Linked DNA regions of Homo sapiens: region 2 is linked to region 1. The links are contacts of gene promoters, found by promoter capture Hi-C in human tissues and cell types (Jung and others, 2019). All regions are on one chromosome and are shown on one strand. Each heading gives the region's core, a stretch centred on a gene start or on the middle of the fragment in contact. The rest is flanking DNA. Distances are from core to core; before and after follow the strand shown.

Region 1 (6,825 bases), core at 2,502-5,001:
TCAGGATCAGAACCCTGGAGGCACCTGCCACCGAGTCAGGGCAGTGCCTCACCAAGTCACCTTTTCCCCTGGATGACTGTCACAGCTTCATACCTGGTCTCCCTGCCTCTGGCCCTGCCCTGCTATGGCCCATCCGCTACACAAGAGAGAAGAAACTAATCTCCTATAGCACCACTTTCATCTTGTCTCCGTCCTGCTCAAAAACCTTCAGTGGCTCCCCAGTGCCTTCAAGATAAAGTTGTGTCTCCTTGACCTAGTACTCAAGGCTTCCCACAGTCTGACTTCAAGCCCATTGTCCACATTTTCCGTACACAGACGAGGCTCCAGCCCCTAATTCTTTGGGCAGTCCCTCACCTCGTAGGATGAGCTTGTGGTTGTTGAGATGAAAAATATTATTCCTTTATTTATCCAACAAAATGCATTAAGTGTGTGCCATTGGCCAGGCCCTGTTCTAATCTCAGAAGATATGTAAATTTAAAAACAAAGTCACCCCTCTCCTGGACCTGACATCTTACAGGAGAGGGACAATAAATATGTAGAATTAATTATAGTACTGAGAGAAGGGCTAAGGAGAAAATCAAAACAGTGAGGCGACAGGGTGACAGCTATGGGAGGTGTGTACTGTGTTAGATAGGTGGGAAGGGGAAGTGTCCACATAAGGTGCCATTTGAGTTCTGAGTGTATTGAGGGAGGGAGCCCAGTGGGTATCTTGGGGAGGTGGAGGGAACAGCAAGTCAAAGGCCCCGGGGTGGGAATGTGCGTGGTAGGTTAGGGGAAGAGCACGGAGGCCATGTGGCCACAGTAAGAGGCACAAGGGGAGAGTGGGAGGGGAGGTCCGATCTTGCAGGCCTCCATGAGGACTCTGGATTTGGAGGGTTTTGCGCAGAAGAATGAAATCCTGTGACTTATAATTTTATGGAATCATCATGTCTGCTGTGCAGGGAACAGGCTGTAGGGGCAGGTGGGGGAGCAGTGAGGCCGTTTGGAGGGAAGGACAAATCCCAGATGACAGGATAGTAGCTTGCCCAGGGTGGAGGCAGTGAGATGGTGAAAAGTGCCAGGTCCCAGATGAATTCTGGATGCAGGATTTGCTAGAGTGGATATGAGCTGTGAGAAAAAGGGACGAATCCAGGAGGCTTCCAAGGCTCTTGGCCTGTGCAACGGTAGGCTGTGGCTGCCGATTACTGAGATAAGTGGCAGGGTGATCAGGCTTCGGAGGGTCAGTCAGAGGTCTTGTTTTGGACCTGTTACCTTTGGGAGGGCTAAATGGCATCAAGTGAAAGTGGACAGGGAAGGGGCAAGTTGGAGCTTGAAGAGGTGAGGATAGAGATGTGATCTGGGAGTGGAGAGAGGACATTTAAAGCCAACGACTGCATGAGCTAACCCAGGTCCTTGATTCTAGTAAAGGTAGATTAAGAAGAGGTCTGAGGGGTTTAAAGAGTGGCCTGTTGTCCACATGGGCACTCCAAGGGTCTGAGCAAGGGGAATGGCAGGCTGCACCATCACCCCCTAACAGGCCCTCCATTCTCCTCAGGGAGGGAGTCAGCCCTGAGCTTGAATCCTGGCTCCACCACTCATAAGCTTTTTGATCTTTTGACCTCTGTGCCTCACTTGCTTCATCTGTAAAATGGGAGTAACAGAACCTCGCAGGGTTTGAGGAGGACTACATGAAATAATGGAATGTTCCTGGCACAGAGTGGCCATGCATACGGGCAGCTCCTCTTACCCCGTCTGCAGTGGCCTGAAGCAGGTTCATAAATGTACCTGGAACCCGCTGGACTGATGAACCCTGCAGAGTCTAGCCGTGAACATGCACCTGGGTCCTAGGAGTCTACAGTTCATAATCTCTCTCATGCTTAGTGTTGCTCTTTTTATGTTGCTTTTATCTATTCATTATGTAAATATTTACTGAGCGTCTTCTATGTGTACCCTAGCATGGTGGGACCTGGGGTAAACCTGGGGTCCAATCCTGCTACCACTGAATACCTGTATGAATACCTGTATGACCCTGGCCAAGTGAATTAACCTCTTTAGGCCTCAGTTTCCTCATTTGTGAAACCTAGGTAATAAGCGCAGTTACCTCATTCGATTCAGAGGATGTCTGCCAAGCACAATGGGTGCACAGCTAAGTGCTCAATAACTACTAGTGGTCATGGTCACTGCTCTAAAGAACTTGGGGGCAAATGCAAGGTGCAGGATGGGGATGGAAGCAGACAACTGCTCACAGCCGGTCTACCCCAAACCCTTTTTCCAGGACATGGTGACCTACTTCATGAACCTGAGCCAGGCGAATGCTCAGGGGACGCCGCGCTGGGAGCTCGAGTACCAGCTGACCGAGGCCTATGGGGTGCCGGACGCCAGCGCCCACTCCATGCACACAGTGCTGGACCGCATCGCTGGCGACCAGAGCACACTGCAGCGCTACTACGTCTATAACTCAGTCAGCTACTCTGCTGGGGTCTGCGACGAGGCCTGCAGCATGCAGCACGTGTGTGCCATGCGCCAGGTGGACATTGACGCTTACACCACCTGTCTGTATGCCTCTGGCACCACGCCCGTGCCCCAGCTCCCGCTGCTGCTGATGGCCCTGCTGGGCCTGTGCACGCTCGTGCTGTGACCTGCCAGGCTCACCTTCTTCCTGGTAACGGGTAACGGGGGCAGCGCCCAGGATCACCCAGAGCTGGGCCTTCCACCATTTCCTCCGCGCCTGAGGAGTGAACTGAAATAGGACAACCGAATCAGGAAGCGAAGCCCCAGGAGCTGCAGCCATCCGTGATCGCGCCACTGCACTCCAGCCTGGGTGACAAAGCCAGACTCTCTCCAAAAACAAACCAGAAACAGAAAAGAAATGACGACCCAAGACCCCCCTACAAGCATACTTCTTTTGCGTATTATGTTTAACTCACAAAACAAAGCTCATCATGCGTTTGATTCTGTGTTGTGTTCCTTTTCTTTTCTTTTGAGACGGAGTCTCGCTCTGTCGCCCAGGCCGGAGTGCAGTGGCGCTATCTCGGCTCTCTGCAACCTCTGCCTCCCGGGTTCAAGCGATTCTCCTGCCTCAGCCTCCTAGCTGGGACTACAGGCGCGCGCCAACACGCCCGACTAATTTGTATTTTTAGTAGAGACGGGGTTTCGCCATGTTTGCCAGGCTGGTCTCGAACTCCTGACCTCAGGTGATCCGCCCGCCTGGGCCTCCCAAAGTGTTGGGATTACAGGCGTGAGTCACCGCGCCCGGCCTCTATTCCCTTCCGTATGGAAATGAGGTTAACTCATTTGCAGGAACCTAACGCCCGCCCTCCCCCGACTCGGATCGCTGGCGTGAACCCAGCGGCCCCGTGCTCTCCGGGTATCCCTGGATCGAGGCGCACGCGTTGTTGCAAAGTCTCGCACTTAGGGATTAGAATGTGCCTTTGCGTTTCGTTTTGTTTTGCAACAATACAGGTGTGAGGGATCGCAGCCCTGGTCCAGGCTCTAGTCTCCCCGCCCTCTCGCTTTCTTGGGCCTCCGGGCGCCTCAAAGGTAAAACTAGGCCATTTGAAGCCTGCGAAGCGAAGGGCAGTCGGTCTTCAGGCCTAGCGGGCTTGGCTGGGCTGGGTCGGTGGACCCCTGGGCTGGCGGCGGGAGCAGAGCATCGAGCGGCTTTTAGCTGGGGTTCGGGCGGAGGACCTGGGACAACCGCGGGCCTCGCTCCTCCCCGGACGGGGCGGGACGGGGAAGTCCCGCCCACCAGGCCCAGGCCCCGGGCCGCCCCGAGGGCTGCGCCCACCTCCTTCCTGCCTCGGCAACCCCGGGCCCTGAGGGCAGGCCCCAACCGCGGAGGAGCAGGAGAGGGCGGAGGCCGGCGGGCCATGCCCTGGTCGTCCCGCGGCGCCCTCCTTCGGGACCTGGTCCTGGGCGTGCTGGGCACCGCCGCCTTCCTGCTCGACCTGGGCACCGACCTGTGGGCCGCCGTCCAGTATGCGCTCGGCGGCCGCTACCTGTGGGCGGCGCTGGTGCTGGCGCTGCTGGGCCTGGCCTCCGTGGCGCTGCAGCTCTTCAGCTGGCTCTGGCTGCGCGCTGACCCTGCCGGCCTGCACGGGTCGCAGCCCCCGCGCCGCTGCCTGGCGCTGCTGCATCTCCTGCAGCTGGGTTACCTGTACAGGTGAGTGCTTCGCCCCGGGAGGGGAGGAGTGTCGGAGCCCAGCACCTCCGTCAGCTGGGTCACCTGTACAGGTGACACGCCATATGCCGGGAAGGGGACTGGGAGAGGGAACCAAGTCCTGTGGGCGCCTGGCCTACAGGTGAGCGTGCAGCCCTTTACGGAAAGGGAATCCCGGTAGACTGCCTTCATTCTAGCCCTAGCTTTCCTGGCACAGGCGAAGAAACTGAGGCCCAGGGAAGAAAGGGAGGCGCATGGGCTTTGAAGTCGGACCTCTCAGGGATCCACTTCTGGCTTTGCCCCCTCTCGCCTCACTTCTGCATTTCTCTGAGCCTCAGTTTCCTCCTGCGTAGAAAGGAGGTAGTCACCCTGAGACAGGTGTGACGGGCAGGCCTGTTGTGAAGAGTGAGCGAAAGAATGAGAAAGTGCCTCGCACAGTGCCTGGCCTGTAATGGCAGGGGCTGCGGACTCAGTTCAGCATCCCATGTTTCAGCATGGGCAGGGCCTTGGGAAGTCACTGACCTCTCAGTGGGGCTGTTTGGTTGCTGTTCCCATTGGGATGGGGATAGCGCCTGCCCGTTTGGTGAAGATGCAGTGAAATGACATCTGTCCACTGCCCTGGCTCAGAGTGAGCACTCAGCAACCTCAGCTGGCTTCTTGACCTGGGCCTCCCTGGGAGTTTCAGCAGCCCTGACCCCACCACAGCGCTTGCCCCTCACAAAGGCCGCCTCTCACCCTGTCTGCCTGGTTGTATTCTTCCCCCTGAAACTTGGCTTCCCACCCCAGACCCAGCAAGAGGGCAGAGATGGCCTCTGACTCATCCATGCCCATGGAGCCAGCCAGGGCTGGGCATAGGCTGGGTCCTGGAAAATGTGTGTGGATTCTGCTCCTTTTTGGACCTGGTGGAGCCTCGTAGAGATGGGAAAACAAACCCAAGGCTCAGAGGCATGCGACAAAGTCAGGGCAGAGGGTGGTGTGGGTTGGGATGGGGTGGCCAGGGCCAGGATCTGCTCTTGAATCCGTTTTTACAAACTCTTGAGATCTGGCCTTGACAAAGCCACACGGAGTCTCCAGGAGTGGAAGAGAGGAGCTTTGAATGTGGCAGTTTTGCCTGAGGGATTATAGAGACATCAGAAAACCCCGGGTGGGCATGAAGGGGTGCAGTTGTTAAGTCCTGGGCAGGCCTCCATGAGCCGTGAATCTGTAACTACCTTATGCATCTTTGTGGCCAATATTTCTGCTGAGCTTGAGTCAGACAGACTGTACTAGCTTTGGCTTTGGAAATGGGTCTCTGTTCCTGCCTGTGAATTGGCCGAGGCAGGGGTCCCTGCTAGGTCACTGGGGACCATAGGCAAAGGCTCCTGCTGAGGGAGAACCCCAGCCTGTCCTGCCTGCCTGCTCCTCAGTGTGTTCTTGTGTCCTTCCAGGGGAAGTGACAGTACATGTCTGGTGAATGAGCTTGTGATGAGTGAACGGGGTTCTCTCCCAATAGGCAACTGAGAGCAAAGTTCTGGGTGGAGGGTCCTTGGTGCATCCTCCACTTACTCTTCATGCCAGTGGGTACCCCAGACCTGTCTGTCCAAACTCTGGACTCTCTTAACTCCGCCCCAATCTCCATCCTTAACCACTCAGGGCCAGCCTCTTAAATGGGATCCCTCCTTCCAATCTAACCCTCCTCCAGCCCCTCCCCTGTGTGGCCGGGGCAAGGCAGAGTCTGATTCCATCTGGCCTGTGCCCAGAAGTGCCCAAGAGGCAAATGTCCTCTTGCCCACAGGACCCCAGGAGATCTTGGGCACACTAAAGTTTGAGAACTACTGCCTCAGGCAACTTTATAGCATGCCTTTCCAATTCAGGTTTGGATCCAAATCCTCATTCCAGTACTTATTAGCTGCTTATAATTTTTTGTTTGTTTTTTAAAAAGAGGTAGGGTCTGGTCAGGCTTGGTGGCTCATGCCTGTAATCCTAGCAGTCTGGGAGGCTGACGTGGGTGGATCACTTGAGGTCAGGAGTTTGAGACCAGCCTGCTGAACATGGCAAAAGCTCATCTCTACAAAAATTAGCCAGGTGTGGTGGCGCATGCCTGTAATCCCAGCATCCCAGCTACTCTGGAGGCCGAGGCAGGAGAATCGCTTGAACCTGGGAGGTGGAGGTTGCAGTGAGCCGAGTTTGTGCCACTGCACTCTAGCCTGGGCGACAAGCGACAGATGTAGACTCTGTCTCCAAAAAAAAAGAAAAAAAAAAAGAGAGAGAGAGGCAGGGTCTCTGTTGCCTGGGCTGGAGTGCAGTGGCACAATCAATCATGGCTCACAGTGGCCTTGAACTCCTGGGCTCAAGCTGTCCTCCTGCGTCAGCCTCCTGAGTAGCTTGGACTACAGGCTTGTACCACCACGTCCAACTAATTAAAAAAAATTCTTTGTAGAGATGGGGCTTGCTGTGTTGCCCAGGGTGGTCTCAAACTCCTGGCCTCCAGTGATCCTCTTGCCTTGGCCTGTCAAAATGTTGGGATTACAGGCGCGAGCCACTGCACCCAGACCTTATTAGCTTCTTGATCCTGTTTCCCCATCTGTAAAATGGGCTTTTGTGAGAAGTAAACAGGACAAGGTTTGTGATGAGCTTGGGACAGTGCTTAGCCAGCGGGAGTAGAAGGTGTATTGATCCCCATTTTTGCTTTTTTGTTTTTTTTGAGA
Region 2 (7,252 bases), core at 762-3,261, 99 kb after region 1:
ACATAAGTCTTTTAAAAATATGACTAGACCTTTGTCTTACCACATTAAAAACTCAATGGCATAATTTTTCCTGGTACATATAGTATCTATAATTCAGCTATTTGTTCCAGTAGTGTAAATCCTAAACACACTGCTCAAGATAATTTTTAACCCTACCATTTCCCTGATAATTAAAGTCCCACCAGGGATAGGGATCACACTTCAAATGTTTCAAAAGGTCTTTTTACCAGTTGCTAATGTCTTCCTAGTTTTATACTTACCTCAACTGAGAGGGCTAGAAGAATAATGACAAAGTAATCATCAATATGCATTTCTCAATATAAAGAAAAATATTTAAAATATATTAAAGGACTTTATCATTTAAATGGGAGCTAGTATACCTAAAGAATACAACTAGAACACGAAAAACATATCCTATTATTTGCTTTCAAAATTCAAATTTTTATAGGTTAGATTTTCATAAAGTAAACATGTACCATGCTGTATCCTCTCTTAATATGAAATGTAAGAGGCCCACTCAGGATAGCAAATTGAATCGGTATTTACCAAACTTCAGAGAAAGAAACTGAAGACAAAAGGAAAAGACCCTCTAGCATAAAAGTTATCTTAAAAGAATGACACTATTGCTTTTGTTTTTTAAATATTAAGGGCCAAAAACCAAAAAGAAGATAAACCCATATCACCTGGGGACATTTAAAATTATTTTATTATGTTCAATATTTAAAAGAAATTAAGAATTCAATATAGTCTCTAGGGTTTTATCTGTTTTTAAGAATTAGCTAGTGGTCAAATTATAACTTCCTCACTACTACTACTTTTTAAAAAATTAACTCTCAAGGAAATTTAGGTAAAAACAAAACTAAATTTTCTGGTAGAAATGGTGATATACTGTCAGATCAGTAAAGAGACGTCCTCTTTTATTTTCTAAAAACTGTAACACTAGCCACTTATTTTTTTAAATGACATTTCTAAATGCAATATTCATTTCGTAATGCTAAATTTTCCTTAGACTCCTTAGAATTAAGTTAGAAAAATATAACATTGTTTTCTTGAAAGGAAACAAGGAATCTTTTCCTTATTTTTATTTCTAATTTGGAATCTATAACTGAATAATAATTAAAATCTCTTAAGATTAGCTCTTCTACAATCAACTTTAAACTGTTAAAGGAAATACTTACTGGTTGCTCTGGTAAATCTTGCTCTTCTTCCATGAGGACCAATATTTCTTTATTATACTTATGTGACTGGATTGCAAGTCTCTCTCAGCAGTTTTCACAATCTGTTTTTAAAAAGGAGGATTCAAAGCTTTATACACTCTTAAAGTATTATCATTGAGGCCATCAGAGAATGATTTTTTAGTATCTTGCTACCCCAAGCTTTCTACGTGAGTTCCAATCACAAAATCTCAAACCTGCACGTGGCTTTTCAAAAATGACATGCTACACCAAATCAAGAGAGGTGTACACAATGACTTTTATAATACCTTGCAAAAGCCAACATGTGGAACCACTTCTGCTGGTTACTATGGTGCCTAATGCATTGAACATTTTACAATGACAGCCACGTGCAGATAATAAAATATTTTTTTAAGGATTAGAGTTACACTAAAAATGATAGGGACTGGCCTAGCAAGTCAGCAAGTTATGATAACATCTAACCTGCTTTAATGTGGAACATTTACATAACTGTTAACACAGACACACAGAATCACTTTAAATAGGACAAACCGGAATATCAACTAAATGCATTCACAACCAACTATCTGTCTATATGTCATCAATTTCAAGGAAAACTCAATTCTTCTGCATCTCAATAATAAAAATAAATAAGTAGAGTGAAACCTTGACTTTTAGAACTAAAGAAAATAATCATCCAAAGATAGGACCTAATTTAATTCTGAAATAATGAACTTCTACTAACTGTACTGCCCAATTATTTAAGCAAAATCTTTACGTTCTCAGACCCTGCTCTTTCTGTCCTGATTTTCAAACAAAAAAGGAAAAATGGGATTCTAAGTCCACCTTACCATGTCCTACTGACAGGAGACAAAGAGACAAAAATTAGAAAGCTGCATACATTATAAAAATGAAATACTCCATTTCTATCTAACAAAAGTGAAACCAGCACTTCTCCCAAAAGATGTGATTGCTTGTATATTTAATTAAAGTCACAGCTGTTTTTAGCTTTTCTACCAACCACTGTACCTAACTCACATACAAAGCTAAAGTAAGTATATAATCTTATCACACAAGTACTGAAAATAGACAAATAACAAGAAAACCAAAAACTTGTTATGCCAGTATACCACCACTCTACTTCTATTACTCTGTCGTGTTGCAATACAACACAACTTTATTTTAGAGCCACACTCCAGAATGTGAAAAGGAGAGAAAACACACATAAGGTTACAATTAGATGCAAAGTTGTCCAACTCTAACACAGCTTTATTCCCTACCCCAATTTAGAATATCAAAAGAAAAAAGAAGTTTAAAGGTCAGAAGCACTTGATGCTCAATGCTCTCACTGTAGCTCATACACAGAGCCTCAAAAGCTAAGTTCTCCTACTACATGACACAGGTAACTAGTGATACAGAATTACAGAGTGCAATAAGTAAAGCTCATAGGAGCTATCTTCCCTGCACTTGTTTTGCTCAGCTTAGAACAACACAGTCAATGTGACCTAAAACTGATTCACAGCTATGAAAGATCAAACATTTTTGGTTTTACTAGTTTATGTCTTAGTTTCAAATTGAAGTATCTTTTCTTTAAGGGACAATCCTTTTCATTTTATACTGTCTAAATGTACATTATGTACATATATTATTTCATCCCATTAGAAACAACAAAATAGGACCACATCATTAGAGAAATGGAATACCTTCAATACCTCATTTGTTGGATTTTTTTTTTTTTTTTTTTTTTTGAGATAGGGTTTCGCTGTGTCACCCAGGCTGGAGTGCAGTGGCGCAATCTCGGCTAACTGCAACCTCCGTCTCCCGGGTTCAAGCAATTTTTCTGCCTCAGGCTCCCAAGTAGCTGGGACTACAGGCGCGCCACCATGCCTGGCTAATTTTTGTATTTTTAGTAGAGATGGGTTTTTGCCATGTTGGCCAGCCTGGTCTTGAACTCCTGACGTCAGGTGATCTGCCTGCCTCAGCCTCCCAAAGTGCTGGGATTACAGGCATACACCTGGCCAAGTTGTTGATTTTTTGTGTGACCAGTTCTCATCCATAGAAAACTTACAACATTACATGTTTTCCCTAATTGAAGGCCATGACTATAAAACTACAATCTCTAGTATATTTTCAGCAAGGGAGATAAAAGGGATATCCACTCCACCATGGGGGAAGAGTTATAAATTTCATCTCTGATAGGAGGAAGGTAAGAATAATTGTTAAAAAATATTTATGTGTATACACACTCAATAATGTGGTTTAATTTTGTTTTTAAACACAAAAACTAATTCGTTTTAAAAATCTGAATTACATTAAAGGAGAACATAATACTACTTACAGGTCAAAAGGGGTCATGGGTTTTAAAAAGTAAGAAAACGCTCTATCAAGTTGAATAATGAAGAATCATTTTAAAAGAAAAAACATAGAAACATTAGTATAAATGGTGGGGATATAAATTATCAATAAATGTTAAAATATTGAATTTTGCTTTTTAGAAATATGGTAATATTAAATTGATTTTATAATAGAAAAAGAAGAATCTACTATTTCTTGACATAAATTCTGTAAGCTGCAAGAAAACCTTCTTTAAGGGAAACATTTAAAGACATTCCTTTCTACATCTATTCTGTGAAAATAAGCACCCTTTGTTGTTTCCATCTTTAAAATTCTCTGTCTTCTTGGCTTTTCAATCTAGGAGAATAAAAAGTACACAAATAATTTCTACATTTAGAAGAAAAGAACTGGCCAGGCATGGTGGCTCATGCCTGTAATCCCAGCACTTTGGGACGCCGAGGCAGGCGGATCACAAGGTCAGGAGATCAAGACCATCTTGGCCAAGATGGTGAAACCCTGTCTCTACTAAAAATACAAAAATTAGCTGGGCGTGGTGGCGCAAGCCTGTAGTCCCAGCTCCTTGGGAGGCTGAGGCAAGAGAATCGCGTGAACCTGGGAGGCGGAGGTTTCAGTGAGCTGAGATCGCACCACTGCACTCCAGCTTGGTGACAGAGTGAGACTCTGTCTCAAAAAAGAAAAGAAAAGAAAAGTTTAAAAACCAGGCTTGCTATCTCAAAATAACTGGTCAATGACCACGAATAATTTTGATCATTTTAAAACAAAAAGCTGCCTACAAGGAAAGAATAGATTACAAAATCCCCCGGGATTCTACTGGCAACATACAATGTGTGGGAAGTTTGCAAACATACATTCTGGTACATTCTGTATAAAATGCACTAATGACCACAAATTATGTAATTCTACCAAAACATTCATCTAAATACTAGTTTCCATCAATACAGTATTCTCCTGCCTTCCAATAATTTGTACCCTGAAAGACCTGAAATATCAGAACATACTAAATATAAGAATGCAAGTATTCATCACAGTCCCAGCATTTATCAATGTTTAAAACTTTTATTAAGACTTCATACCATTTTCCACAAGTGGTGCATGCTATACAATCAAAAGTCATACTTACTAGCAAGAGATGAAAATACAGTATAACTAAGACACAATATTGCAAAACTTGGTAATAAAAGAAGTACAGAATTACTGTAAAAATCTTAGTATTAGTTTCCTTGTATTAGTTCTAGAATTTAACGTGTTTTTTTTTTTTGTCTTTTGTTTTTTGAGATGGAGTCTCGCTCTGTCGCCCAGGCTGGAGTGCAGTGGCGCGATCTCAGCTCACTGCAAGCTCCGCCTCCCAGGTTCACGCCATTCTCCTGCCTCAGCCTCCTGAATAGTTGGGACTACAGGCGCCCGCCACCACGCCCGGCTAATTTTTTGTATTTTTAGTAGAGACGCGGTTTCACCGTGTTAGCCAGGATGATCTCGATCTCCTGACCTCGTGATCCGCCCACCTCAGCCTCCCAAAGTGCTGGCATTACAGGTGTGAGCCACCGCGCCCGGTCAACGGTTTTTTTTTGTTTGTTTGTTTGTTTTTACCATTAATGTAACCTGACATTATTTTACATTCAGTGAGATTCATCTTTTAAAATATCAAGTAATACAACAGTTGTAACACAGAAGTGAAAAGTGGATTTTTAATGTAATTAAAATAAATTAAAACTTAGTCAAACAGCTGATGAAATTACAAGACATGCCCCGAGTTAATCTTTTAAGTACCTTTAGAACATTTGGAAAGTAATGTCTTTTCACAATTTTCTAATTTCAATTCTTACTACTGGTTTCTAAATACACTTGTTTTATCACCTTTTTTGGAAATAGAGCTTGTCAGTATTCATTTGCCTTCATGGACAGAATTCTGAGAAAATTTTAAATTGAGAATAGAAATAGTATTTCCTAAGACTTTACACTTCTCTACCTGTGAATGCTGACAGTGAAAAAATAGAAACTTTGGTTTGATTCAAGAGCCACACAATTTTGAATACTATTGAGATTTTGCATGCTTAAAAATAAAAGCAGGATCTTTCTGTAATATGGCAGCCATAAATTTTATTTTTACTCTTTAGAAGTTAGAAGGGAAATAATTAGTAACAAATATTTTATTTCAAAATTCAAATTAGATTCCTACCTCATAGTTTCTGTTTTGTCCCAAGTTCAACATACTATGTACCCTGTAAATGTAAATGGCCATAAGCAAGAAATTAGGTTGCTTCAATGTGTTATTAAAGCTCTTAGGCTTAGGAAGAGAAATTAAATATATGTAGGTGTGTGTGTGTGTGTGTGTGTGTGTGTGTGTGTGTTCTGTTTGTTTAAAAGCACAGAATAGGCTGGGTGCAGTGGCTCACACCTGTAATCCCAGCACTTTAGAAGGCCAAAGCAGGCGGATCACTTGAGGTCAGGAGTTTCAAACTAGCCTGGCCAACATGGTCAAACTCTGTCTCTCTTAAAAATACAAAAAATTAATCTGGCGTGGTGGCACGCGCCTGTAATTCCTGCTACTCAGGAGGCTGAGGGAGGAAAACTGCTTAAACTCAGAAGGCGGAGGTTGCAGTGAGCCGAGATTGCACCACTGCACTCCAGGCTGGGCGACAGGAAACTGACTAACGCTCCATCTCAAAAAAAAAAAAAAAAAGCACAGAATAAAGGTCAAATTGTTTTCCATGAAAACAAGGCATATATCACTCTTAATTACAACTTCAAAAGAAGTGTCTAAGTAAGGCAAAGTCTGATTTATAGGTCCTAGAAAGAGAATTTGCATGCAGCTAAGTATGTACAGAGATATTCAGGAGTTAACTGGATATCTATGACACAGTCCCACATAGAAAAAAGGTAGTCCATAGATTTGCTCACTGACTACATTGTATTTTAAGTTTATTTACTACACTTTCCAAAGTGCCTTATATATATATATATTTTTTTTTATTTTTAATTTTTTTTGGGGGGGGAAATAACTAAAACCTTTTTTTTTTTTTTTTTTTTTGGAGACAGCATCTTGCTCTGTCACCCAGGCTGGAGCACAGCGGCGTAATCTCGGCTCACCGCAACTTCCACCTCCCCAGTTTAAGCAATTCTCATGCCTCAGCCTCCCAGGTAGCTGGGATTACAGGTGTGCGCCACCACACCTGGTTAATTTTTGTAGCGATGGGGTTTTGCCATGTTGGCCAGGATGGTCCCAGACTCCTGGCCTCAAGTGATCCACCAGCCTCGGCCTCTCAAAGTGCTGGGATTACAGGTGTGAGCCACCACATCCGGCCTAAAACCTTTATTAGATATGATTTTCCAATAATAATAATGTGCAAATTTGAATTATGAATTCAAAGAGCAGTGAAGTCTGAAATTTTAAAAGGTAGAATAGGTATTAGGGAACAAAAGGTAAAGGAAGATGAGAACGTTTAATACTATTCATTATCTCCTCTGTACACAATGTTGCATATACACAACTATTTCATTTTTATCTTATTGATTTAACAATAGTGAAATCACCTTAAGCAACCTACGGTATATAGTTGGTGTCCAACTTTGGGGGGGAAGGTAGAAACATACATGATTAACATTTTTCACCCACACATTTTAGACAATTTTTTTTTTTTGGCCAAGATTTTAGCAGCAAATTCATAAATATAAGAAGTACTTTCACTCATTCAATGTTAAAACAGAAAGCCAAATAGTGTCAA

The links. The method cuts DNA at HindIII sites, captures the fragments that hold promoters and counts their contacts. A contact is called where the count stands out against the background at its distance.
Region 2: a fragment that was not itself captured here is called in contact with the fragment with the promoter of XKR8 in region 1 in 2 of the 25 tissues and cell types used here (dorsolateral prefrontal cortex and hippocampus).

The regions. Positions count from the first base shown.
Region 1 is chr1:27,956,222-27,963,046 of GRCh38, forward strand. It overlaps XKR8 (XK related 8), which reads left to right and starts at 3,752. Exons shown (of 3, transcript NM_018053.4): 1 at 3,752-4,141. The coding sequence starts at 3,849. SMPDL3B (sphingomyelin phosphodiesterase acid like 3B) reads left to right here. Exons shown (of 8, transcript NM_014474.4): 8 at 2,255-2,931. The coding sequence ends at 2,617. RefSeq lists a silencer at 3,623-4,012 and an enhancer at 3,693-4,256. The HindIII fragment of the contact is 22,893 bases long and covers 383-6,825 here.
Region 2 is chr1:28,056,816-28,064,067 of GRCh38, forward strand. It overlaps EYA3 (EYA transcriptional coactivator and phosphatase 3), which reads right to left. Exons shown (of 18, transcript NM_001990.4): 2 at 1,179-1,279. The coding sequence starts at 1,211. Among named protein-coding and RNA genes, the nearest start is that of EYA3, 28 kb to the right of the region's middle. The HindIII fragment of the contact is 7,152 bases long and covers 1-5,587 here.